7 separate regions of the Homo sapiens genome follow, and all the other regions are linked to region 4. Evidence: promoter capture Hi-C in 16 types of primary human blood cells and fetal thymus (Javierre and others, 2016). All regions are on one chromosome and are shown on one strand. Each heading gives the region's core, a stretch centred on a gene start or on the middle of the fragment in contact. The rest is flanking DNA. Distances are from core to core; before and after follow the strand shown. Region 1 overlaps PIP5K1B (phosphatidylinositol-4-phosphate 5-kinase type 1 beta). Region 2 overlaps PIP5K1B (phosphatidylinositol-4-phosphate 5-kinase type 1 beta). Region 3 overlaps PIP5K1B (phosphatidylinositol-4-phosphate 5-kinase type 1 beta). Region 4 holds the start of TMEM252 (transmembrane protein 252). Region 5 overlaps PIP5K1B (phosphatidylinositol-4-phosphate 5-kinase type 1 beta). Region 6 overlaps PIP5K1B (phosphatidylinositol-4-phosphate 5-kinase type 1 beta). Region 7 overlaps PIP5K1B (phosphatidylinositol-4-phosphate 5-kinase type 1 beta).

Evidence for each region. Contacts are between HindIII fragments. The CHiCAGO score rates a contact against its expected background, and 5 or more counts as called.
Region 1: a contact is called between a fragment that was not itself captured here and the fragment with the promoter of TMEM252 in region 4, in 8 of 17 cell types (monocytes, M1 macrophages, endothelial precursors and 5 more). The highest score is 9.4, in monocytes.
Region 2: a contact is called between a fragment that was not itself captured here and the fragment with the promoter of TMEM252 in region 4, in 9 of 17 cell types (endothelial precursors, neutrophils, total B cells and 6 more). The highest score is 12.9, in endothelial precursors.
Region 3: a fragment that was not itself captured here is called in contact with the fragment with the promoter of TMEM252 in region 4 in 4 of 17 cell types (endothelial precursors, naive B cells, total B cells and 1 more); the score reaches 8.1 in endothelial precursors.
Region 5: a fragment that was not itself captured here is called in contact with the fragment with the promoter of TMEM252 in region 4 in 4 of 17 cell types (total B cells, endothelial precursors, naive B cells and 1 more); the score reaches 10.6 in total B cells.
Region 6: a fragment that was not itself captured here is called in contact with the fragment with the promoter of TMEM252 in region 4 in 2 of 17 cell types (total B cells and naive B cells); the score reaches 5.6 in total B cells.
Region 7: a contact is called between a fragment that was not itself captured here and the fragment with the promoter of TMEM252 in region 4, in 1 of 17 cell types (total B cells). The highest score is 5.5, in total B cells.

What each region holds. Positions count from the first base shown.
Region 1 is chr9:68,991,554-68,994,992 of GRCh38, forward strand. The region is part of intron 15 of PIP5K1B (phosphatidylinositol-4-phosphate 5-kinase type 1 beta); the gene reads left to right. Among named protein-coding and RNA genes, the nearest start is that of PRKACG, 21 kb to the right of the region's middle. The HindIII fragment of the contact is 5,656 bases long and covers 1-3,439 here.
Region 2 is chr9:68,969,935-68,973,243 of GRCh38, forward strand. All of the region lies in intron 14 of PIP5K1B (phosphatidylinositol-4-phosphate 5-kinase type 1 beta), which reads left to right. All of the region lies in intron 1 of LOC101927069 (a long non-coding RNA gene), which reads right to left. Among named protein-coding and RNA genes, the nearest start is that of PRKACG, 43 kb to the right of the region's middle. The HindIII fragment of the contact is 3,045 bases long and covers 452-3,309 here.
Region 3 is chr9:68,946,068-68,949,268 of GRCh38, forward strand. The region is part of intron 14 of PIP5K1B (phosphatidylinositol-4-phosphate 5-kinase type 1 beta); the gene reads left to right. Among named protein-coding and RNA genes, the nearest start is that of PRKACG, 66 kb to the right of the region's middle. RefSeq lists an enhancer at 670-1,346. The HindIII fragment of the contact is 293 bases long and covers 1,549-1,841 here.
Region 4 is chr9:68,538,906-68,542,336 of GRCh38, forward strand. It overlaps TMEM252 (transmembrane protein 252), which reads right to left and starts at 1,978. Exons shown (of 2, transcript NM_153237.2): 1 at 1,632-1,978. The coding sequence starts at 1,909. TMEM252-DT (TMEM252 divergent transcript) reads left to right here and starts at 2,120. Exons shown (of 5, transcript NR_187592.1): 1 at 2,120-2,325. The HindIII fragment of the contact is 3,743 bases long and covers 1,503-3,431 here.
Region 5 is chr9:68,929,324-68,932,863 of GRCh38, forward strand. All of the region lies in intron 12 of PIP5K1B (phosphatidylinositol-4-phosphate 5-kinase type 1 beta), which reads left to right. Among named protein-coding and RNA genes, the nearest start is that of PRKACG, 83 kb to the right of the region's middle. RefSeq lists an enhancer at 2,708-3,540. The HindIII fragment of the contact is 151 bases long and covers 1,924-2,074 here.
Region 6 is chr9:68,909,764-68,913,188 of GRCh38, forward strand. All of the region lies in intron 8 of PIP5K1B (phosphatidylinositol-4-phosphate 5-kinase type 1 beta), which reads left to right. Among named protein-coding and RNA genes, the nearest start is that of PRKACG, 100 kb to the right of the region's middle. The HindIII fragment of the contact is 6,425 bases long and covers 1-3,425 here.
Region 7 is chr9:68,869,394-68,872,823 of GRCh38, forward strand. All of the region lies in intron 5 of PIP5K1B (phosphatidylinositol-4-phosphate 5-kinase type 1 beta), which reads left to right. Among named protein-coding and RNA genes, the nearest start is that of PABIR1, 91 kb to the left of the region's middle. RefSeq lists an enhancer at 2,749-3,333. The HindIII fragment of the contact is 443 bases long and covers 1,304-1,746 here.

The DNA of each region.
Region 1 (3,439 bases), core at 322-2,821, 450 kb after region 4:
CCTTTGACTCAGCCGTGCTCCCTGATGTTTGAATCTTCTGTGTGTTGGCGTTGCTCCCTTGGTAAGTTAGTAGGCCGAGAGGCGCAGAACTGGGTCATGGGAAGAACCCAAATTCAGTGCTGGAGAATCTTGGCTGATTCTCTCCTCAGTTGTCACCAACCAGCTGTGTGATTTGGGAAGGAACCTTTCTGACTGCCTAAGGAGGGAAATAATGCCCACCCTGCCTACCTTACAAGGCTGCTTTGAGGATCATGAGTGACCCTTTAGTGCCTGTCAAATTACCTGTATCAGCTTAATCGAACTGTTAGATAATGCCTAGAAAGATACCCTGATGGGCTACACTGTAAAAGAGTATTTTCTGTGCCAAGTGCATCTTGCATGTATGCTACGTCTTTGTATGCCTGCACAAAAAAAAATTTTTTTTGGGGGGGGGCAGAGTTTTGCTCTTGTTGCCCAGGCTGGAGTGCAATGGTGCGATCTCGGCTCACCGCAACCTCCGCCTCCCAGGTTCAAGCAATTCTCCTGCCTCAGCCTCCCTAGTAGCTGGGATTACAGGCATGTGCCACCACGCCTGGCTAATTTTGTATTTTTAGTAGAGACGGGGTTTCCATGTTGGTCAGGCTGGTCTCAAACTCCCGACCTCAGGTATCTGCCCACCTTGGCCTCCCAAAGTGCTGGGATTACAGGCATGAGCCACTGCACCCGGCCTACCTGCACAAAATTACATAAAACAGGGGAAGTGTTCTTTTGGAATTTTCTGGGTTTTTTTAAGTTTTGCTAAACCTGAGCCAATACTCTGTGTCGCTCCTGGTGTACAAGTGCAACTTCAGGAATCAGCACCGAGTGATGCATGTCTCACAGCAGCTCCCTGAGCCTCCTTGAGCCTGCATTTTATGCTTTTCCATATCCCTGACCTAGCACTGTAATTTCTCACAAGTGCTCTGCAGGGCATCAGTCACCTAAGATGCTACTCCTAGCAATACTGGAGTAGTATCCAAAGTCCTGGCCAGGCATGGTGGCTCATGCCTCTAATCCCAGCACTTTGGGAGTCTGAGGCAGGCAAATCACTTGAGGTCAGGAGTTCGAGACCAGCCTGACCAGGATGGTGAAACCCCATCTCTACTAAAAATAGGAAAATTAGGCAGGCATGGTGGTGCATGTCTGTAGTCCCAGCTACTTAGGAGGCTGAGGTAGGAGAATCACTTGCACCTGGGAGGCGGAGGTTGCAATGAGCCGAGATCATGCCACTGCATTCCCACCTAGGCAACAGAGCATGACCCTGTCTCAAAAAAAAAAAAAAAAAAAAAAAAAAAAAAAAGTCCTGGCTGGGCGCAGTGGCTCACGCCTGTAATCCCAGCACTTTGGGATGCCGAGGCAGGAGCATCAGGAGGTCAGGAGTTCGAGACCATCCTGGCTAACACGGTGAAACCCCATCTGTACTAAAAATACAGAGGAAAAATTAGCCGGGCGTGGTGGCAGGCGCCTGTAGTCCCAGCTACTCGGAAGGCTGGGGCAGGAGAATGGCGTGAACCCGGGAGGCGGAGCTTGCGGTGAGCCGAGATCACGCCACTGCACTCCAGCCTGGGCGACAGAGCCAGACTCCGTCTCCAAAAAAAAAAAAGTCCTCCAGGCCCTGCATGGTCTGGTCTCCCCTGCATCTCCGACCTGCCCCCTCCCTGGGTCTCCCTCTTCCTTGCTGATGCTATTCTAGCCACACTGGCCTCCTTGGTGTTCCTCTCACAGACCAAGCACATCTCTGCCTTGGGACTTTTGTGTTTGCCATTCCTGTCTGTGTATTCTTTTCCACCTATCCCATGCTCCCTCACTTCCTTCAGGTCTCAGCCCAAGTACCTCTTTTTCAGATAGGCTTTTCTTGACCGCCCCCTACGTAAAACAGCAGGTCCCCCACCAACCGTTGTAAAAAGATTTTTTCTCTGAATATCCTAGTTTTTGCATAAACAAATTTTTTTGCACTGAGCAATGCTCCACCCTACCATTGCCCCCGCTTTAAAAAAAATAAGATTGTAGCAGATCACAAAATCCTTACAGAAAAGTTGGTCCACCCCCAACCAAGAAAATGGGGAATTAAATAGGGAAAAAAATACATTTTTGGTCCCATGTTGGATTCATCTGGAACCAGAAATCAGGAAAGCCTTTCAGAAAGAAGCTAAGTAAAATCTCATCTTCATGAGCTAAGGATTCATGCCACTTTCATGTGTCTTTACAAAAACTAGATTTTCACCAGTCACGGAGGTGCAATATTCCTAAGTGAGCCAAAACTCAAATTCAGCTCCATGTGTGGTCCTGCCTAAACTTGAACCCAGGAGCACCCTGTTGTTGTTATTGACCATAAATATAAGTCTCACGTCCATCTCATTGGAATCATGTGTCTTACAAGAGTGAGGGAAGGATACAGAAAGGAAGGAATGAGGGGGTTTTATTGAGAATATTTTTTGTAAAATTCTTTCACTGTTTTTTCCTGAATTTTTTTTTTTTTTTTTTTTGAGATGGAATTTCACTCTTGTCGCCCAGGCTGGAGTGCAGTGGCGCGATCTCGACTCACTGCAACCTCCACCTCCCAGGTTCAAGCGATTCTCCTGCCTCAGCCTCCTAAGTAGCTGGGATTACAGGGACCTGCCACCACGCCCAGCTAATTTTTCGTGTTTTCACTAGAGACGGGGTTTCGCCATGTTGGTCAGGCTGATTTTGAACTCCTGACCTCAGGTGATCCGCCCGCCTCGGCCTCCCAAAGTGCTGGGATTATAGGAGTGAGCCACTGCACCTAGCCAAAATTGTTTAAGTATTCATTAATTTAAAACAGTAATCTATTATATGTTAAATAATGTTTTTATGAATATTATTATATTTTCCAAAACAAAAATAAATTTTGTGAGAAAGGTGGCATTCTTTTATATTTCTGCAAATCCCTAATGTCTGGCTTAATGGAAGAAAAAAGATTCTCACATCTGTTTCTGTATCTGTCTTCTTGATATATATAACACATCATTTCATTTCTAGAAAGCTCCATCGTACATCCATGAAAGGGAATGAGAATAAAAAGGCAAACAACATCTTTGTATTATTAGGAAAATAGTTTGACCTCATGGACCCCCAGAAATGATCCCTACAGAGTTTTTCTCATATTTTAACTTAGTCTCTTCACCTGTTGCAAAACCAAGTGAAGCATAAATTAATTAGAGACAAATAGGCACCTGGAGTCTGTGCTGGTCTCTGCCTCTCATTAATCGTTTCCCTTGAATTCAGTGATCTCAGTTTTCTCATCTATAAAATGAATTATTAAATCAGGTTCATTCTAAATTACAAAGAGATATAGAAATAAGATTTTCCAAGGTGGGAAGATTGCTTGAGGCCAGGAGTTCGAGACCAGCCAAGGCAACACAGTGATACCTCATCTCTACAAAAATTAAAAAAAAAAAAA
Region 2 (3,309 bases), core at 724-3,223, 430 kb after region 4:
TTGTTGAATTTCTAATTCATAGGACATGAAATTTTTTTAGTTGTGGAGGTTGGATTTTTTCATTAAAAAAATAGCCCTTACTTACCCCAACACCCTTACTTTAGAAATTGGAAAACCAGGGTGCATAGAAGTGACATTACTTACTTAACATCACACAGATAGGTAGTAGCAGAATCAAGACCAGAATCTAGTTCCTCAACTCTGAATCCAGTGACTTTTCCATTGACATGTTCTTAAATGTTATAAAGGATGATGGTAACTTTCTAAAATCATTGACTGATAAAATCTAAAATTGTTTAAAGGAGCATGTGTTTTTCCTTAAATTGCTTCTCACTGAAACTCTGTGCCATCCAGAATTATAGCTAGGGTTAATTACATGTTGTCAAGACCAGGCACTACGCCAAGTCTTTTAGATGCGTATTCATTGTGTACTTGTAACAGGATTGGCCTAAGCTTTGATGATTACCACTAGGGTTTGGTTGTTCCTGGCAATTAGTAGGAAATTGTCCTACCCAAGCAATATGCATGCAGTCATCTGAGATAATCTTTCCCACAATATGTGGAAAAGTGTTGGTAAGGCAGAGTAGGTTGTGAATACCAAGATGGATGGAACTTTTGTTCACCCAACTGTGAACTTTATTCCCTCACTATATATCGTATTCCATACACGATGGTGTGTACCCTTTTTCAGGTTTCCATTTTTAGAATTGAAGAAAATGGGCTGTTGCTTTCAAAAATCATGTTCATTTAAATTGTGTTTTTACTCTCTGTTAAGAAATCACATATAAACATATGGATTTGAGCACCCCCTGCGATTTTTCTGGGGTCCCACCAGGATCTGTGGCTGCCTAACTGATATCCACCTCTCCAGCATGTTGCCAGCAGCCACAGTGACTCCAATGGAAGCAGCAACTTCAAAATATTATGCTAAAATTGGCTCCTAATGTTTTCCTCTTGCCTTCATGCAGTAGCATGCCAGAGCCCACATCTTCTTGCTTGCTAGAGTCAAATTTTGCAAGCCAGTTGTTAAGAACAGCGATTTTTATTATTTATGTATTTATTTATTGATTTATTTATTTTATTATACTTTAAGTTCTGGGATACGTATGCAGAACGTGCAGGTTTGTTACATAGGTATACATGTGCCATGGTGGTTTGCTGCACCCCTCAACCCGTCATCTCCATTAGGTAATTCTCCTAATGATAGAGTGCCCCCCACTCCCCGACAGGCCCCAGTGTATGATGTTCCCTTCCCTGTGCCCATATGTTCTCATTATTCAATTCCCACTTACGAGTGAGAACATGCAGTGTTTGGTTTTCTGTTCTTGTGTTAGTTTGCTGAGAATGATGGCTTCCAGCTTCATCAATGTCCCTGCAAAGGACATAAACTCACTCTTTTTTGTGGCTACATAGTATTCCATGGTGTATATGTACCACATTTTCTTTATCTAGTCTATCATTGATGGGCATTTCGGTTGGTTCCAATTATTTGCTATTGTGAATAGTGCTGCAATAAACATACTTGTGCGTGTGTCTTTATAGTAGAATCGTTTATAATCCTTATGGTATATACCCAGTAATGGGATTTCTGGGTCAAATGGTATTTCTAGTTCTAGATCCTTGAGGAACTGCCACACTCTCTTCCACAATGGTTGAACTAGTTTACAGTCCCACCAGCAGTGTAAAAGCATTCCTATTTCTCCACATCCTCTCCAGCATCTGTTGTTTCCTGACATTTTAATGATCGCCATTCTAACTGGCGTGAGATGGTATCTCATTGTGGTTTTGATTTGCATTTCTCTAATGACGTGATGATGAGCTTTTTTTCATGTTTGTTGGCTGCATAAATGTCTTCTTTTGAAAAGTGTCTGTTCATATCCTTTGCCCACTTTTTGATGGGGTTGTTTTTTCTTGTAAATTTGTTTAAGTTCCTTGTAGATTCTGGATATTAGCCCTTTGTTAGATGGATAGATTGCAAAAATTTTCTTCCATTCTGTAGGTTGCCTGTTCACTCTGATGATAGTTTCTTTTGCTATGCAGGAGCTCTTTAGTTTAATTAGATCTCATTTGTCAGTTTTGGCTTTTGTTGCCATTGCTTTTGGTGTTTTAGTCATTAAGTCTTTGCCCATGTCTATGTCCTGAATGGTAATGCCTAGGTTTTCTTCTAGGGTTTTTATTGTTTTAGGTCTTATGTTTAAATCTTTAGTCCATCTTGAGTTAATTTTTGTATAAGGTGTAAGGAAGGGGTCCAGTTTCAGTTTTCTGCATATGGCTAGCCAGTTTTCCCAACACCATTTATTAAATAGGGAATCCTTTCTTCATTGCTTGTTTTTGTCAGGTTTGTCAAAGATCAGATGGTTGTAGATGTGTGGTGTTGTTTCTGAGGCCTCTGTTCTGTTCCATTGGTGTATATATCTGTTTTTGTACCAGTACCATGAAGAACAGCCATTTGATTGTTAATAATGGGCGATCGAGGCGGGTGGATCACCTGAGGTCAGGAGTTCAAGACCAGCCCGGCTAACGTGGTAAAACCCCGTCTCTACAAAAAATACAAAAATTAGCTGGGTGTGGTGGTGTGTGCCTGTAGTCCCAGTTACTTGGGAGCGTAAGGCAGGAGAATCACTTGAACCTGGGAGGCAGAGGTTGTAGTGAGCTAAGATCATACCACTACACTCCATCCTGAGCGACAGAGCAAGCAAGACTTTGTCTGAAAAAATAAAAATATAAGTATAAAAACTTTATGTACATACATATGTGCACATGGGTTTTTTTCCTAAATGCTGGTTGTTAAGCCTTTACTTGTACACAACTCCTTCTGAGCCAGTCAAGTCTATAACATGTGTTTCTTTATATAATTATCTTCAACAATAATACTAATAACTAAAATGTATTGAACACAAGGGACAGATTTTATAACAGTCAGCCTCACTGAATTCTCCCAAATGCTCCAGGGACCAGGAGACAATGAGGAGGGTAAATTCAGGCACCTCCAGCATGAGCAAGGACATCTAATAGGTGCCTTCCGAAGGCAAGCAGATGGTAGACACTTGCACATGTTATTATTTACATCAACCCTGTTGTAAATAACGAGAGTGATTTTTATCACTGTGATAGGGATAAAGAACAAGCTCAGAAAGATAAAGTGACTGCCCAAGCAAGCCCCAGCTAAGTAATGCTGGTTAGAAGGGGAGACCACAAGGCAAGAACTAAAGCCTTCCAGTGCCTGCTCCCGCAACAGCTCAGACGTAATACAACAACCTCATCTGTTGCAGTGAACTCCAGCCTGGGCGACAGAGCGAGACTCCATCT
Region 3 (3,201 bases), core at 445-2,944, 410 kb after region 4:
ATCGAGAAAAGACTTTTATTAGATATGTTCCTGCTGGGTTTAGAAAATCCTATATCTTCTGTTGATACAGCAAGGTCAGCAGGAATCTTTAATATTTACAAAATGAAAGGAGAACAGCTAGTTGCAAAAACTTCCTAGTGATTCCATTCCCCTAACCCTAATCTCAAGGGAAAGACAGCACAACTGTGTTACCTGCTGTGAACTTTGCAGCTACCTGCCATACCTAGACACCAGTCTAGGGCTACACAGCCCCTAGTAGGATGATGCACTCGTTGATGCTAAACATTGAAGACGACCTCTCCAGACTCTTTGTTCTTTTATGGTTTTTTGTTTTTTGTTTTTTTTTTGAGACAGAGTCTCTGTCACCCAGGCTGGAGTACAGTGGCGTGATCTCAGTTCACTGCAACCTCCACCTCCCGGGTTCAAGCAATTCCCCTACCTCAGCCTCCCGAGTAGCTGGGACTACAGGTGCGTGCCACCACGCCCGGCTAATTTTTTTTTAGTAGAGACGGGGTTTGGGGTTTCAACGTGTTAGCCAGGATGGTCTCGATCTCCTGACCTCTTGGTCTGCCCGCCTCAGCCTCCAAAAGTGCTGGGATTACAGGCATGAGCCACCACGCCCAGCCTGTTCTTTTATGTTTCTTAATCTGCTGACTCCTGCCTTGCAAACAGACCTTCCTACCCCCACCACCTCAGATGGTGGTGGGTAAAGATGCTCATGCGTCTTGCTAAATCATCCCTTAGGACATTAGCTCTCAAACTGCCACTTCTAGTGATCTAACATTGGGCAAGTTACTTGCTCGTCATGTGCCTCAGTTTCCTCATTTGTAAAGTGTGAATTACTATACTACTGCCCCCAGAGTTGTTATAAAGATTAAATGAAATAACAATTAGAAAGCATTTATACCTTGTGGCACATAGTAAGCCCCATAAAACATTTGTTGAAATAAAATAACCAAGTGATTTGAGACACTAATACCTTGCAGCTGCCGCATAAGTCTCACTGTAAAGGGCATGATGTTTTTGACAAAAAGCCATCATGGAGTGCTTTGTTAGAGTCCTTTCAGGAAATGGAAAACACACTTGGAATTTCAAAGGGAATTGGTTACAGAATGTGGGGAGGCTGGAAGACTGAAGGGGGAAATTCCAGAAACTCAGGTAAATAACTGCAGGAGGCAGCTCCCACCATGAGCTCTGCCACGATACCTGCTGCCGCCTTGGAGAAGGGACAGTGGCGGAGGATGCTACCTGAAGAGCTGGGATAGTGCAAGAACATAGCCACCTCCAGAGACACTGCCCTGAAATGGAAGAAAGATAAATGAGAGCAGAAAGCCAGCAGCTTCTGTCCTCCTGCCACCTTCTCATCCAACTCCTGCAATGCCTTGACTGACAGGACCTAGTCAAGAGGCCTATGGGATATCGTTTGCAACTCTGGGCCCCAGCATTGCAAAGTAGAGTTGAGATAGGATAAAAACAACCACAACACATGGAGCAAAAGCTAGATAGACACAGGATCTTTTTTAAAAGAGAGAGAGAGGAAAGGGTCAAAGCTTTACAAAGGTAGTGTGAGTGCAAGAACAGGAATCAATTTAGGCTTTTATAGAAGTAATCATGGAACCAATTTATTCTCATGCCATTGTAATAGTACTATGTAAAGTAGCCATAAATTTTTTAATGATCTGTGCAATTAGAGACTCCAGTATTTACCAATAAGTCTGTCTGACAATCAGTAATGCATTCCCTGGTACTGTGCTGGTTGTAAATACTCATAGAAATGTCTTAGCTAATTCTAGACACATGGGATAGATCTTTAGTTTGAGAATTCCTCAAAGAGGCTTGTAAGCTTGAGGAACCCAAGTGAGACTCCCTCTGATAAGGCAGGTGACACAGTTTGGGAGCAGATAGCCATCACCCATGCCCTTACAAAACATTTCTGCTTTATTACCAATACATCATTTGTGAACCCACCACCCCTGCAACATCTTATCTGAATCTTTCTTAGTCTGGAGCAAACACAGAATGAGGGGAAAATGTGGTCACATTCTTTCATTCTTAGTAAAGAAAGGATTTAGTCACCTTTTCCCAAGTGTCAAGAAATGAAGTCATCAAGCAAATGATACCACATGTTTAGAGAAGCAAAAACCTTCCTTATTCTTCAGTCTCTTGAAAGAAGGATATTCCATTTTAAAAATCAAAACCATTATAGCATTACCAGTGAACCTGAGTGGTGTCACATCTCTCTCCAGTTGTGGCTGAGGCACATGCTGAAAAAGTTGGAACCTGGCTGCGAGTGATGGCTCATGCCTCTAATCCCAGCACTGTGGGAGGTGAGGCAGGAAGATCTCTTGAGCCCAGGAGTTCGAGACCAACCTGGGCAGCTTAGCAAGACCTCATTTCTACAACAACAACAGCAACAACAACAAAAAACACATCTGAGCATGGTGGCACGTGCCTGTAGTCCCAGCTACTTGGGAGGCTAAGATGGGAGGATTGCTTGAATCCAGGAGTTCCAGGTTTCAGTGAGCTGTGATCATGCCACTGCACTCCAGCCTGGGCAACAGAGGCGAGACCTTGCCTCAAAAAAAAAAAGGAACCTGCAGAAGTTTTATAATATGCCTGTTAGTTTAGTTTTTCCTCCCCACCCCCAGAAAAAAAAAAAATAGAAGAAAAAACATGGATTTACATCACATTAGTCTGCACCTGGATTTTGCCAGATGTCTTTTTTCCTTTTTGACAAATTATAGAATTACTTCTGAAGTGATTAGCTTTTCAAATGATCCCTCATATATTTCTGCCAGGGCAGGAAATTGAAGTGAATTTTTCAGATATCTGACATTATATGAAGAATAATTTAGGATTCAGCATTAATTCAAAGAACATTCACATTTTTTGAGGAATTCATGTGAGATAATATTTCTGGGTACTTTTTGTGTGTTACTAAGATTTTTAAATCGATTTAGTTTATGGATAAATCATATTGCCAAAAAAAGTGGGAAAACTGTTGGCCAATTTTTGAATATTTTAACTGACAAAAAAAAAAAGACTTCTTTATCCATTCTTTGCCTCTTAATTCTGGAACTAAAACACTACATCTTTATTTCCCTTGACTTAAAACACTAGTGCTATGTCTCTGGAAGAATGGTTTGCTGGTAGTGGATGTACCTTTGTAGACACTCTTCAATTCTCTGCCCTCCTTCGTGG
Region 4 (3,431 bases), core at 728-3,227:
ACTCTAGAGGTAGTCCTCTAACATTTATACAAAAAGAAATCATCACTCTAGAGGCATCTTCTACAATCACTTCATTTCTCTTAATTTTTAATCAAACCCAGAAACTCTGCTGGTTAGTATAACATTGGAAATAAGTTTTGGTTTTCATAATTATTATCTTATTAATTAGCATAAAGGATGCCAAAAGTGGATGCTCATGGGTAAGATTACTTATATTCAAGATACATGGAGTAGCTAAAATATTTTAGATACTTTCTACTCTTGCACGAAGAGGGCAAAATAATTATAGTCTTGTAGCCTGTATCTTGAGAATGATGCCTAGGGTGTTATCCCTAAATGGTCCTGTGGCTAGCCAAGAATTAGGAGGTTTCTTGTTGCCTGATACTGACTATAAGATTAACTGAATCTTTTTTTTCTTGTGGTAAAATATATATGACATAAAATTTACTGTTTTTAAGTGTATAGCTCAGTGGCACTAAATACACTCATATTGCTCTACAACCATCACCTTAAAACTCTCTACTCATTAAACAATAGGTCCCCAGTCTCTCCTTCCACCAGCCCCTGGGACCACTGTTCTACTTTCTGTGTCTGTGAATTTGACTACGCTAAGTACTCATGTAAGTGGAATTATACAATATTTGCCCTTTGTAACTGACTTGTTTCACTTAGCATAATGTTTTCAACTTCATCCAAGTGGTGGCATGTGCCAGGATTTCCTTCCTTTTTAAGGCTAATATTCCATTGCATGTATATACCACATTTTGTTTATCTACTCACCTGTTGATGGACATTTGGGCTATTATGAATAAATGTTGCTACAAGCATTGGTGTACAAACATCCATTTGAATCCCTGCTTTCAGTTCCTTTGTGTATAAACTCAGAATGTAGAATTGCCAGATCAAACAGTAATTCAATATTTAATGTATAGAGGAGTCTCCACACTGTTTTCCACAGTGGTTGCACCATTTTAACATTCCCACCAGCAATGCACAGCGTTCCAATTTATTGACATCCTCACCAACACTAGCTGTTTGGTTTTGTTTTTTGATGATAACTATCCTAATGTATGAGATGGCGAGAAAGAATGAATCTTGCCTCTAGAATATTATCACCTTCCCCTGAAGGAATGTTTTATGCAAGGTGAGATCACAACACCTAAAAGGACAGTAAACTGGGACTTTTCTGAGCTCACAGAGATTCCAGGACTCATTTTATGCCTGCTTCTTCATTTGTTGTGTGGCAGAATTTGGTCTGGGACTTGCTTTCCTTAGAACCTCATAGCCAGGTTATGGGAAGTAACTAACCATCACCTGCCACTAATTAATGACAGCTGCCATGATATAACAAAAGAGCCTGGGTTTCTAAATTGGCTTAGGTGGGTTTTCACTGGGGGTGGTGGTAGGGTTTCTCTGAGATGAGTTGCCCCTGCGTCATGGTTTTCCCCAAAGATGGCGCCACTCTTCCTAATAACAACCCCAGAGTAATTCCCTGACAATAAAGCTTTGGTTCTAGACAGACAGCCCATGGGACATGTAAGTCGCTCCATAGTAGGATCAGAAATTACTCAGATCTTACACAACTCAGCCCATCTCAGCCCTTCTTGGTCCCTCTGCCTGTCAGCACGTACCTGTCTACTGTGGCCACGGGCAGGGCCCCATGAGCAAGGTGTTGTCGGAGCATGTGCCTCAACACTCCTTTGCTTTCAGTCACCTGGCGATAGTTGCTCCAGAAAATTCCACTCAGAAGGATCACAAACCCCAGAGGCAGAAGCAAATAGGCCGCAATCAGGCTCCCCTGACAGTCGAATATGGAGCCCCAGGAAATGAAGAAGGCCCCCAGGCAGACCATCAGGAAACCCATCAGGAGGGCAAGAGCACAGAGAATGAGGCCAGTTCTGTTCTGCATCCTTGCACCTTAGGAACCCAGCACCCTGACCCTGCTGCTCCTCTGCTTCCCTGCTTGCTCCAAGAGAATGAGCTCATTAGCCAGCTTGCAGCTTTATATGCTCTGGGACCCACTGGCCTTTGGACAACTAAATGAAACAGGCACTTAGAAGCTATTCATTAACCATTGAAAGTAAGTGTAATATCCTTGGAGAATTAGCCAAAAAACATAGCATTGTATACTGCAGGCAGGAGTGGCTTCGTGTAGCTGTTTTGTTCTTCAGAGTTGGGTGGGACACTCAGCTGTTCCCAGTTATTTGAACGTACAGCCCTCCTTTGATTAAAAGGCGCTGGTCTCTTAATCCCCATGGAGGGCAATTCCCCACTAAAAGCTGGAGAAGTTAGCACTCTTTAAAGAACGATCTTCTTTGAGGTTTGGTAAGAAATCCCTTCCTGATTCCTTCTCCCTTTTTCTGTACTAAAAAGGCATTTCTTCAAGGCTGTTAACATGTTTGTCTTGCCTCCCTCAATGAATCCCCACTTATTGCCCCCACACTATGATACTGGCATAATTCCAAGACAGAAGTTCAGAGTGTGAACTTCGTGGTTCCTGCTCTGTTGACAAGATCGAAAGAGCCTGAGTGGGAGGGAAAGGAGAGTGCTGGAGAAAAGGACTATAATAGACAGAGCCTCGGGAATTTGGGGGGATTTTGGGCCTGTAATTCCTGCAATCTTTCCCCCTTTCATAAAGTACATATGAAATAGAATTCGTTTTAGAGGATGCTGCTAAAAATGTTCCCTGTCCTCTCCTCCACACCTCTGCTCTATGTAGCATTGCCTCAAAAAATCTTTCCAGAACCAGCCTTCTGTTTCCTGGCTGGAATTTGTTTTCTTTAGCTTGACTGTCTTTGATTGTGGATAGCTTATTTCAGACGTGCTTTATGCCCTGGCTCTGCCCTTTTTTATTTGATAATGTGGCATGTCTCTGCCAAAAGTCTCCTTCCCATAGGAACCCTGGGTTGCTTTTACTCAGGATAGCTTATCTTCAGTTCCTCTTTGCTGCTGTTCCACTCCACTACTCCATTACCATTATTTTCCATTTACTTTCCCAATGAGAGCAGCAGTTTTTTGTGGCGTGCCCTAATAATCCCTCATATAACCTTTAGTCTCACACTCACCATCTCCTTAGCTCTACCTTCATGTTAGGGCTGGGAGACACGGATATTAGAGAGGTACACACTATGGATCAAAAACTATATAAGGCACTTCTCCATTCCAACCCTTAGCCTTTACCTTTCTTAGCTTCAATTTCGACCTTGAACTACCTTGATCTTCTAGTCTTGATATTGTCTTTGTAATCTTAAAACAGCTCTTATTCCCTCCTTCCCCAAACTGTGAGATGGAATATTTCTAAGATGATCCCTAAGGATCCCACCTCCTGATATTCATGTCCTTGTGTAAGTAATCCTCTCCCCTGAGTGTAGGCTGGACCTAGTGACTTCATTCTAATCAATAGAATATGGTAACGGTGATCGGAAGTTACT
Region 5 (3,540 bases), core at 749-3,248, 390 kb after region 4:
GATCCCTGTAGAGATTATCTCCACTACAGGGTAATTTTAACCATTCACTCCCTCTTCTGGCTCCACACCTCATCCTTCTATCTGCTCATTCTCATATATCATAGAAACAAACCTCCTCAACGATCTGTCTCTCTTCAGTTCCTGGTGTATCTTTTTCCTCCTTCACTGTCACCCTATTGGAGATGAGAGTTGGATGTACTTGCTGTCTCACTTTTTTTATTTCTTGTCACTATTCAGTGTTCTCCAGTGGCTTTTGATCCCACCACTCTACCAAAATGTTCTTTTTGAAGTAATCAACAATCATTGCTCAAGCCATTGAACAACTTTCAGTTTTTTTTGTTTTTGTTTTTGTTTTTGTTTTTTTGAGATGGAGTCTCACTCTGTTGCCCAGGCTGGAGTACAGTGGCACTATCTCAGCTCACTGCAACCTCTGCCTCCCAGGTTCAAGTGATTCTCCTGCCTCAGCCTCCAGAGTAACTGGGACCACAGGCATGCGCCACCACACCCAGCTAATGTTTGTATTTTTAGTAGAGACAGGGTTTTGCCATGTTGGCCAGGCTGGTCTTGAACTCCTGACCTCAAGTGATCCACCCACCTTGGCCTCCCAAAGTGCTGGGATTACAGGTGTGAGCCACCGCACCCAGCCTCTTTCAGTCTTCTTAAAACTCTCCAGCATGTGAGACCACTGATAGCAGTTCTCTGTGAAATAACGCTCTTCGCTTGTCTTTCGTAACTCAGGACTTCCCTGGTTGCCTTCCAGCCTCTCTTCTCCTCCTTGGTATCCTTTGGAAGCTTTTCATCCCTGCTTACTCTTATTGTGGTTGCTCCTCAGGGTCCAGGCTCTGACTCGGTCTCTTCTTATACAGCACTCTGGGTAATTCCCTGTTCTCCCAAGGGTTCAGTTACCATCTGTGTACTTGCAACTTACTCCCCACACTTCTAGCAATTCCCCTTGCCTGTCCACTCCCCAAACTTAAGCATCCACTAGATTCCACAAGCTCAGCATGCCCAAAATTGAATTTAGCCACTTACCACCCCAGAGTCTGCCTCTCTACCTGGGTCCACGTCTTATGGAAGACCACCACAATCCACCCAATTACCCAGCCAGAATGCTGCCATCATCCCTTGACCCCTTCCTTCTGCTTACCACCCACGTGCAGTTACTCAGCAACACCTATCAGTCCTCACTCTGCAGTATCAGGATTGCAGCCCCTTCTCTCACAGTACCTCTCCTGATTCAGCCACTGTGTTTTTTGGTTTGCAGGTTTTATTATTATTTTTTTTTTTGCATAAAGTTGTGGCCCCAAACAGGTCTCTTTGCCTCCCATCATGTACCCATTCAATCCAATTTCCACACACACACACTGCAGCTAGAGGAATCAGTTTAAAATATAAATCTGCTCTTGCTGATTTCTGTTAAAACCCTTCCATGCTAATAATAATAATAATAATAATGCTAAAGGAAATAAACGTCCATGGATTCCCTGGTGCCCAAAGTCCTTAACTTTCACTTAACACATTTCCTGGCACACAGTAGACACTCAATGGTTATTTGATGAATAATGCAATGAATGAATGGAATTTTTATCTAACACCACCATTTCAAAGGGTAATTAAATTATTAGAAAAGTAGACACTTGAGTTAACTTTAAGATGTTCCATCAACCATGGTTAATTTAAAGCCCTTAATGCCTAAAGGCATACTCCCCTCCCACCAAGAAAATAGTACCTGGTCTTCAAGTTTCTTTTTTGAAGTCAGTGTTTTTTAACCTTTTTAAATCCCTTCATCCCACCCACAAGTGAGTCATGCTGCCGGTGTAATAATGTCTACAAAATCCTATAATATTTCCTGGAAATATTAGCCACCATTATGTTGAAACTTCACTGAAATTCTCCATACGAATAATTTGTCTAAAGTACTAAAGCTTAGTTTCCTGAATAGAATATAAGAGTTAAATTAATTTGTTAGAGAAAATTAACTGTTCTAAAACTTCAGAACAATAATGCATTCATGAACAAACACTCGTGCACCTATTATGTATCTAGCACTACACTAAGCACTGATGATATAGAAAGCTTTTTAAATATTGATTAGTTCCTCCCTCAATAATTTAATAGTCTCTTTTGAGCCGGAGATTGAAACATGTGACAGATCTGTAATGAAACAATTGCTAATATTTCTGCATATGCTACTATGGGTACGCGGAGAGAAATAAGAGAAAAAAAGACCAATTCTTCCAAAAGAGAGCTCACAGAGAAAAAGATATTTCAACTAAATCCTGAAAATGTAACCCAGAGTTCATTAAGAAGAGAGACAGGAAGGGCATCTCAAGGAGAAAGAACAGCATGTGCAAAGGCCTAAGGGCAGAATGAACATGGTAGGTTCCAATATGGCAGAAGGGTGAGCTGAAAAGTGAACATGGAGGCAGTCGAGTGGCAGAATGCAAGGCTAGAAATGGACACAGGATACCTACTGCCAGCCATGGTTGAGCCAAAGACAAATCTAGGCGTTTCTGCCACACAAAAGGAAGCAACCAGCCACCCAAACCAGCTCTCAATGTTACCCAGTCAAAAGAGATCCTGAGAATTAAATTTCTGCAAAATCCAAGCTCTTATCTGCTGAGTGAGATCATTCCTTTAAGGAAGAAACTCACCACTTGAGACAAAAGTGAACTCTTTGTTGTGGTGCTATGTGGTCTTGGCAGAGGTTTGTTTTCCGGTCTTCTCTGCTCCTCATTATACGTGATGCTGATAAAGAACAAAGAGTTACTTCTTTTTCCAGTCTTTTGGCCCTCACTCCATGAAATGCCATGAGTATAGGTCTCCTGAGTATCTTTTCCTCATTACACGGCTCTCACCCTGATCGCATTTCCTTGGTACTGCCGAAAACCTTTTGATCATTGCTGTTTCTTCGTTTAGAGAAATAACATTGACCTAAGAACTATGATGTAGAAAAGCAGTTCTCAAACCTTTTGGTCTCAGGGCCACATTACACCCTTAAAAATTATTGAGGACACCAAAGAGCTTTTATTTATGTGGGTGATAGCTATCTATATTTCACATATTAGAAATTAAAATTGAGAAAAATTTAAAAATATTTATTAATTCTTACCAGTTAACAAAAAAAATTGCGTGTTAACATCAGTCAATTTTTAACATAAATAATTACAAAATATAATTATATTTTCCACAAATAATTTAGTGAGAAAAGTGGAATTGTTTTACCTTTTTGTTTGAAATCCTTAACGTCTGGCTTAATAGAAGATAAGTTGGAGTCTCACATCTGCTTCTGAATTCAATATGTGGTGACATCACAGGTCATGTAACATCTAGAAAACTCTACACATATGAGAGAATGAAAGTGAAAAAGGCAAATAATGTCTTATGATGATGATGAAAATAATTTTAACATCACAGATCTTCTGAAAGGGTCTCAGAGACCCCTTAGTTTCCACCCCACATCTGAGATCCTCTGATTTAGAAGTTTTAAAATACAGCTGGGCACAGTGGCTCATGCCTGTAATCCTAGCACTTTGGGAG
Region 6 (3,425 bases), core at 40-2,539, 370 kb after region 4:
CTCATCAGGAGGCACATCATGTCAGAATGCCTTTCTTTCTGCAATGTTAGTACCTGTTGATGACCACTGATTAGACTCATTCATTCATCAGGAGTGGTAAAATGGGGATGTTCTAATTTTATTATATGTCTGCTAGACTGCACAAAGGAATTTTAAACAAAAGAGTACCTGTCACATAGTAGGTGCGCAATAAAATACGTATTGAATGGGTTAATTTCCATAAGAACCCCTATGACAAGGGAGCAGAGGACAGGAAAACTAAGAAGGCCTTGAGATGTGTTCCATCTTAGGGCCAGCACCAAGCGTTCTTGGATGATTAAAGAGCCTTCACAGTTGACCAAGCCTGTGACATGCTGTTCTTGCAAAGGCTTCCTAAAGAAAAATGTGATAGTCTTACTAGACTCAAAGCTCAGCCTAATTTATAGCAAAACAACTTTGCCTTTTATCTGCCATTTAGCTGTATGCCTACTAAACAGTAAATCAAAAGAATCTCTATAAATATCAGCTTGATTTTTGCCCTTGACACAGTGTATATAAAATACCTATGGTGTGGGTAGGTTTGAAAGCACTGTAGGCTTTTATCTTTATTTTTCTGACAACACAGAGCACATAATCACAGTAAATGTTTTTAGTGCCAAAAATTTGTTCATGGGCATTGTAATCATGATGCACAGGTATCAAGTTCTTATATTTAAGATACAGGGTGTAGTGTTTTACATTCTTTATTGCTGAATATTTTGGTTTTCACTTACTTATACATGTGGAAAGCAGTATAACAAATATTCATTCCTACTGTGTTCAGAGCACACAGCAAAATGCACTAAGTCAAACCAGTCTTTGTTGAGAAATGAAGTCTTGTGTGTATGATACAAAGAATATAGGTGTAACCTGAGGTAGAATTTTATATGACAGAGGGACACTAATAATGTGCTTGGGTCTTCAGAGGGGAGACATATCCCAATAGTTTGTTGAAATCATTAGTAAATTTGCATGGAGTGGGGACAGGCTTTGAAAAAACAGTAGGATTTGAAAAGATGGTAAGGACCATCTAGAAGAAACGACATGAGCAGAAGCATCAGAGTTTACATCTTCAGAGCACATTCAGGGGTAAAGAGCTCCAGTTAGACTAGCCTGGCAAATGTCTCTAGCCAGGCATTAAGTAACAAAAAGACATTGGCTAGGGCCATATTAGTGAGGACTTTCTATGTCAAATTGAAGCACTGGCACCAAGCAGTGGTGAGAGACTGAAGGCTTTGAGTAGGGATGTGATGTGACCTGGTCAAGCACAGATGTCAGGAATGGGTTTGTGAGGAAAGAATGGGAAACTGGGCCAGGCATGGTGGCTCACGCCTGTAATCCCAGCACTTTGGGAGGCTGAGGTAGGTGGATCACTTGAGGTCAGGAGTTCGAGACCAGCCTGACCAACATGGAGAAACCTTGTCTCTATTAAAAATACAAAATTAACTGGTCATGGCGGCACACGCCTGTAATCCCAGCTACTTGGGAGGCTGAGGCAGGAACATTGCTTGAACCCGGGAAGCGGAGGTTGCAGTGAGCCGAGAACATGCCATTGCACTCCAGCCTGGGCAACAAGAGCAAAACTCCATCTCAAATAAAAAAAAAAAAAAAAAGAATGGGAAACTGAAATTAATTCATTATCATTAGAGAGAAGGAACGTTTTGATAATAGAAGCTGCAGGATTGGGTGACTCAGTGAAGGAAAAGTAGCCATGAAGTATGAAATCGCATTAGAATGATTTCAAATAAAAGAGGGAAGTGAGGAAAAAGAACTGCTTTGGAGTGAGGTAAGAATTTAGGGTTATAGCATGGCCATGTGTAGACATTTAGATGGTCATGGTGGCTCATGCCTGTAATCCCAGCACTTTAGGAGGCCGAGGTGGTTGGATCGCTTGAGCCCAGGAGTTCAAGACCAGCCTGGGCAGCAAGGCAAAACCCCATCTCCACAAAAAATTAGTCAGGTGTGGTGGCATGTGCCTGTAGTTCCAGCCACTCGGGAGGCTGAGATGAGAGGATCACTTGAGCCCAAAAGGTCAAGGCTGCAGTGAGTCATGTTTGCACCACTGCCTCCAGCCTGGGTGATGGAGTGAGACTCTGTTTCAAAAAAATATTTTTTTAATTTAAAAAAGAAGTTTAGAGATGTTCTGAAGGAAATATATTGGGCTGCAGCTTAGGAATGAAGTCAGATTAAATGCAACAATTTAGGAATTTTCTGTAGAAAGATGGTAATTGGAATCTACCTTTAAGAAGATCTCAAATCTATCCACTTCTCCCTCGAGCTCCCCAGCTGCCCCTACTCATTCAAGTATTACCCTCTCTTACCTGGACTGCTGAAATACCCCCCAGTCGAAAGTAGGTACTTCCTGTGGGATCTTCCCACAGCTCTCTGATTTTTCCCTCCAGGCCTTATTACAATGTGTAATTCGGGCTTGTTTAATGTTGAGTATGGAATAATTATCTGTTGTTTTATCCCTGAAGATCCATCAACTTCCACAGTGCGTGGCACTCAAACATTTTTTTTTCCAACAAAAGAGTCAATGAATGTAAGTACTAGAAAGTAGAAAAAACAGAGAGCTTTGGGTGAACATCTTTAGGGCACAGGAAGAAAAAGTGGAAAAGTCAAATAGACAAAGAACCAAGAGAAGCCAGGGCACAATAGCTAAGGGAGAGGGGAGATTCAAGGTGGGCTGGTCATAGGGATCGATTCTGCAGGTGGAGGAATAACATGAATAGCTGACATTAATTGAGTGCTTTTTGTGTGCCTAAGACTTGGCACGGATTAACTCAGTTAATCTTCACAGTAACTTTGGTAGGAATTATTTGGTAGGAATCCCTATTATAGAGATAATACAGGTGAGAATAGATACCAGAAATGTTAAATACTTTGCCCAAAAACAAGCAAGTGGGGGAGCCATGAGTCAAACCAGGCCATCTGGTTCCAGAGCAAGGAGACTGAACCACCCTGCAGCCACACCAGCTCCTGCTAGCAGTAAGACAGAAGATAGTTTGCAGTGTGATGTGGTGTTAAAGATGTAAAAGCAAAAGGAGGACCAGCTGCTCTTTGTAGCCTTTAGTCATGAAGAGAGGATGGCAATGCCTATGATTCTGAGTTAGGATATTTCCACATTAGGTCCCCAAATCTACAGAAGTTACAGGAACACTCATGCATCACCAGTCATGAAAACCTGAGGAATATGCTCTCATTTCAAGAACAGGTAGTTTTTGATTGTGTCTTCAGGGTACTCTAGCAGCTGCTTTGACATTGACTTTGACATTGACTTTTTTACTACATTCCAATGTTGTTATTGACTTAAATTAGTCCTTGAGAGAGAAGGAAGAAAGAATCTGACTTTGGCAATAGAAAGCCTTGCAGTATTCCAACTTGCTTTCAGTTTTAAATAGTTCTGT
Region 7 (3,430 bases), core at 275-2,774, 330 kb after region 4:
TCCCCCCATTTCCACTGTCTGTGGAAAAATTGTCTTCCACAAAACTGGTCCCTGGTGCCAAAAAGGTTGGGGACCACTGTCTTATATCATGTGGGTCAGCATACAACAGCCCATGGGACAGGCCCCGCTAACTGCCCGTTTTTGTAAATAAGGTTTAATTGGAATAAAGCCACATCCATTCATTTACAAATTGTCTGCGGCTGCTATCTACAATGGCTGCAGAGTTGAGTAATTGCTACAGAGACTGTATGGCCCACAGAGCTCGAAATATTATCTGGCCCTTTATAGAAAAAGATTGCCAAGGCTGGCTGCAGTGGCTCACGCCCGTAATCCCAGCACTTTGGGAGGCCGAGGTGGGAAGATCACATGAGCTCAAGAGTTTGAAAGCAGCCTGGGCAATATAGTGAGACCTCATCTCTTTATATTTAATAAAAATAAAAATAAATAAAAAAGAAAAAGATTACCAACTCCTGATCTATACAAACATTCTGCACCAGTTTTTATGTACATGTGGGTAGAAGACAAAGCTGCCAGCTTAGTCTTCTTGGGAGAAAATGAGAAGTGACTGCTGCTGGGCAAGCCATAATATGATGCTCCTTCAAATCAAAACTCTTTATGTCTTTGTTCAGCGTGTATTTGGTGAGGATGGGGAGAAACTGATTTCCTATTACTAAAAGCCATATACCTCTTCCTTTAGCTCAAAGGATTTATTGCATGCACTGGATATTATACAATATTCTACTTTATTTGAAGTTATCTTCAAGCACGGTTTTCCAGTATGGTAATAACTTCTTGGATGGTTTAATGTTTATATAACCGATGATGTCACATGTTCCCAGTAAATGACATCCCGGAATGCACTGTTTGGTTGGGGAATTTAAGCTGTCTTCAGATGCTGACTTTTACAGATTGGCTGTCAGCTGGTTGGTCTCTGAAGATGGTGCAGCCTCGTCTTATACAATGCAGTTCATGTGTACCCATCACAGAACTGCTCAGCAACAGGAGGTTGGCACCAGCAAGGAATGTGTCTTTTGTTTTGCTTTGTTTTGTTTTTCCATTCATGAGCACTCTCTAATTTGGCAAAAAAGAGGACCAATTTCTGTCTCTCTCTCTCTAGTTACGTAAAGAATTGTATGTGGAAACCAAGGGATATCCACCTTGGCTGAATTGGCAGAGGCAATTAATAATACCTTAAGGCCGCTTTTACAGACTGCTGTGTACGAAGGTCCAACTTGAAGACTGGGTACCATCAGTAGTTTGTTACTGGATTGTAGTGGCATTCACCCAACTGTAGTGCCACTTAAGCTTTCCTAATGTCTGCACATCAAGACAAAGCACCCTTCATTTATCCTGTCATACAGAGGGTAAGGTCATGTTTGTTGAATACAAGTGAGGGCATTTAGCATCCTTTAGCGACACTGACCACTATCACCCAGGAGTTGCGTAAGTACTAGTTTTGTCAAAAGTCCTCAGAGCCACTATTGATGGTTTGGTTACAATTTGAAATAAACAAAGCTCACTAAATGGAAAATGCTGCTCTAGAGGCAAGAAAGCTCTGAGTCTCAGCTCCAAAACTGGTCCCCTTGTGTTGTCTTTGAGATGCTAAATTAGTTTTACCCCATTGCTTACCACCACATCTCTCAGTCCAGTGCCACCAAAACTAGCACTTGGTCATCAGGCTCTAAAACCCCATAAACAAAGCTGTGTTGTTATTAGTACATAGAGAGGAGAACACCAACTGACCAAAGCTTCTGTAAGTGAAATTCTACCCACCAGCCCCTGTGGTGTGAAGGCCTCATGTGGAAGTAATTGGGATATTTGGGCAGGGAGAAACCCCTGAAACTTGTAACAGAATCCTGAAAAGGAGGAATAACAGAGGAACGTCAAGTCTAAGTTAAGCCATTCCTATCTGCTTATGACTTTTCTGCTGTTCTGATGTGAGTCTAATCTCCCAATCTTGTTTGTTCCTGATCAGTTTGGGCCATTGTTTTCCCTCCCTGGACTATGATTTATCTGCTAAATGGGGAATTCCAGATGGCGGCTAATGCTTCCTCAAGCTTCAACATTGTGTAATTCTGAACATACGTTGCCATTAAGATATATGTATTTTTAGACTAAGACAAGCAGTAGCTTTGGCCTTAAAAATGAACTTGCCTCAGAAGAGGTGAATATCAGAATGCCAGAGCTGGTCTGTGATTGAACTTTAACTGCTTCTTAGTGAATAAGTGGGGAAGAGGACAGAGAAACTTCTGTTCTTTATTTGAAATTTCTTTCTCCTTTTTTGGAGCTAAAAATGCCCTGATGTGATAGGGATTGTAACGTGTGCTTGCTTAATTGTTTAGGTTCTTACTTGGCAAAATAAATTTGGAAATCCAAGGTTGGATTCCAAACTTTTGTTGTCGAAATTTTACTGGCCCATGGGATCCAAGCATCTAGAACCACTGCTCAAAACCCCATAGCTGAGATTTCCAAAGCTTCAACTTACGCCAAGACAAGAAAGTCAGTTGTCGGGTGTTTTTTTTTTTTTTCCACACCCTACATAAGTGCATTGAAGAAATATAAGGTAAATCTTAAACTGTGAGGAGTTCTACTCTTTTTCTGACTTCATTTTTGCTAAGTCTGGATGCTGAGCACAGTTACTCAACAGGTAACTCCAGTCTCAAGCAAGGAAAGCCTGTGGACTTCAGGAGGCAAACGTTGATTGCGGTCATTGTGTTTGAATGTTGGCAGTTCTGCCATGGTGGAAGTTGCTAAGCACTTGGTACCTGTGCTGTGGAGATTCTGTGCTGAACGCCTGTGGGCTGGCACCCACATCTACACACAGTAAATGTGCCAGCGTGGGGCCTCAGAGAACCAAGGTTGTTGCCTGCTGGCTGACCTTCACTGGACTTGCTGTTTTGTTCTCTGCACTCGTGCTCCCCTGACAAATATCCGGGCCCAGCAGGGGCCAGCGATCTCATTAATTTGCATTTCCTTCACTAGAGCTTCATTCATGTCAAGCTGGTATTTGTTATTCATTGGAACAGCTTAAATATGCAGAGGTAAACAAACCTTCTGCTGTGGTGCTGAGCACGGAGGGCTCAGTTTGGGGGAAGAGGAATCAGTTTATGGCTTTTAACCTCTAACTTTTTAAATTTATTTAATTTTGTGAATGATAATACACAGCAAGGCTTGTCCTGTTCTTAAAAGGAATACTGTGAAGAGTTCCTTTTGTCCCTGTGCCTTTTTTTCAGTGTCCAGCTCCAGTTATCACTGTTACTTGTGGCTGTTTTTTCCTTCAAGGATTTTTTATGTATATGCATGCCAAAAGAATATTTGTTTTCTTTTTTATGCAAGTGGTGACATCCCCTACACAGCATTCTGCATCATGTTTCATCCACTTAACAATTTATCTTAGAGATCTTGCCATGTCAGTACATAATAAGCACCC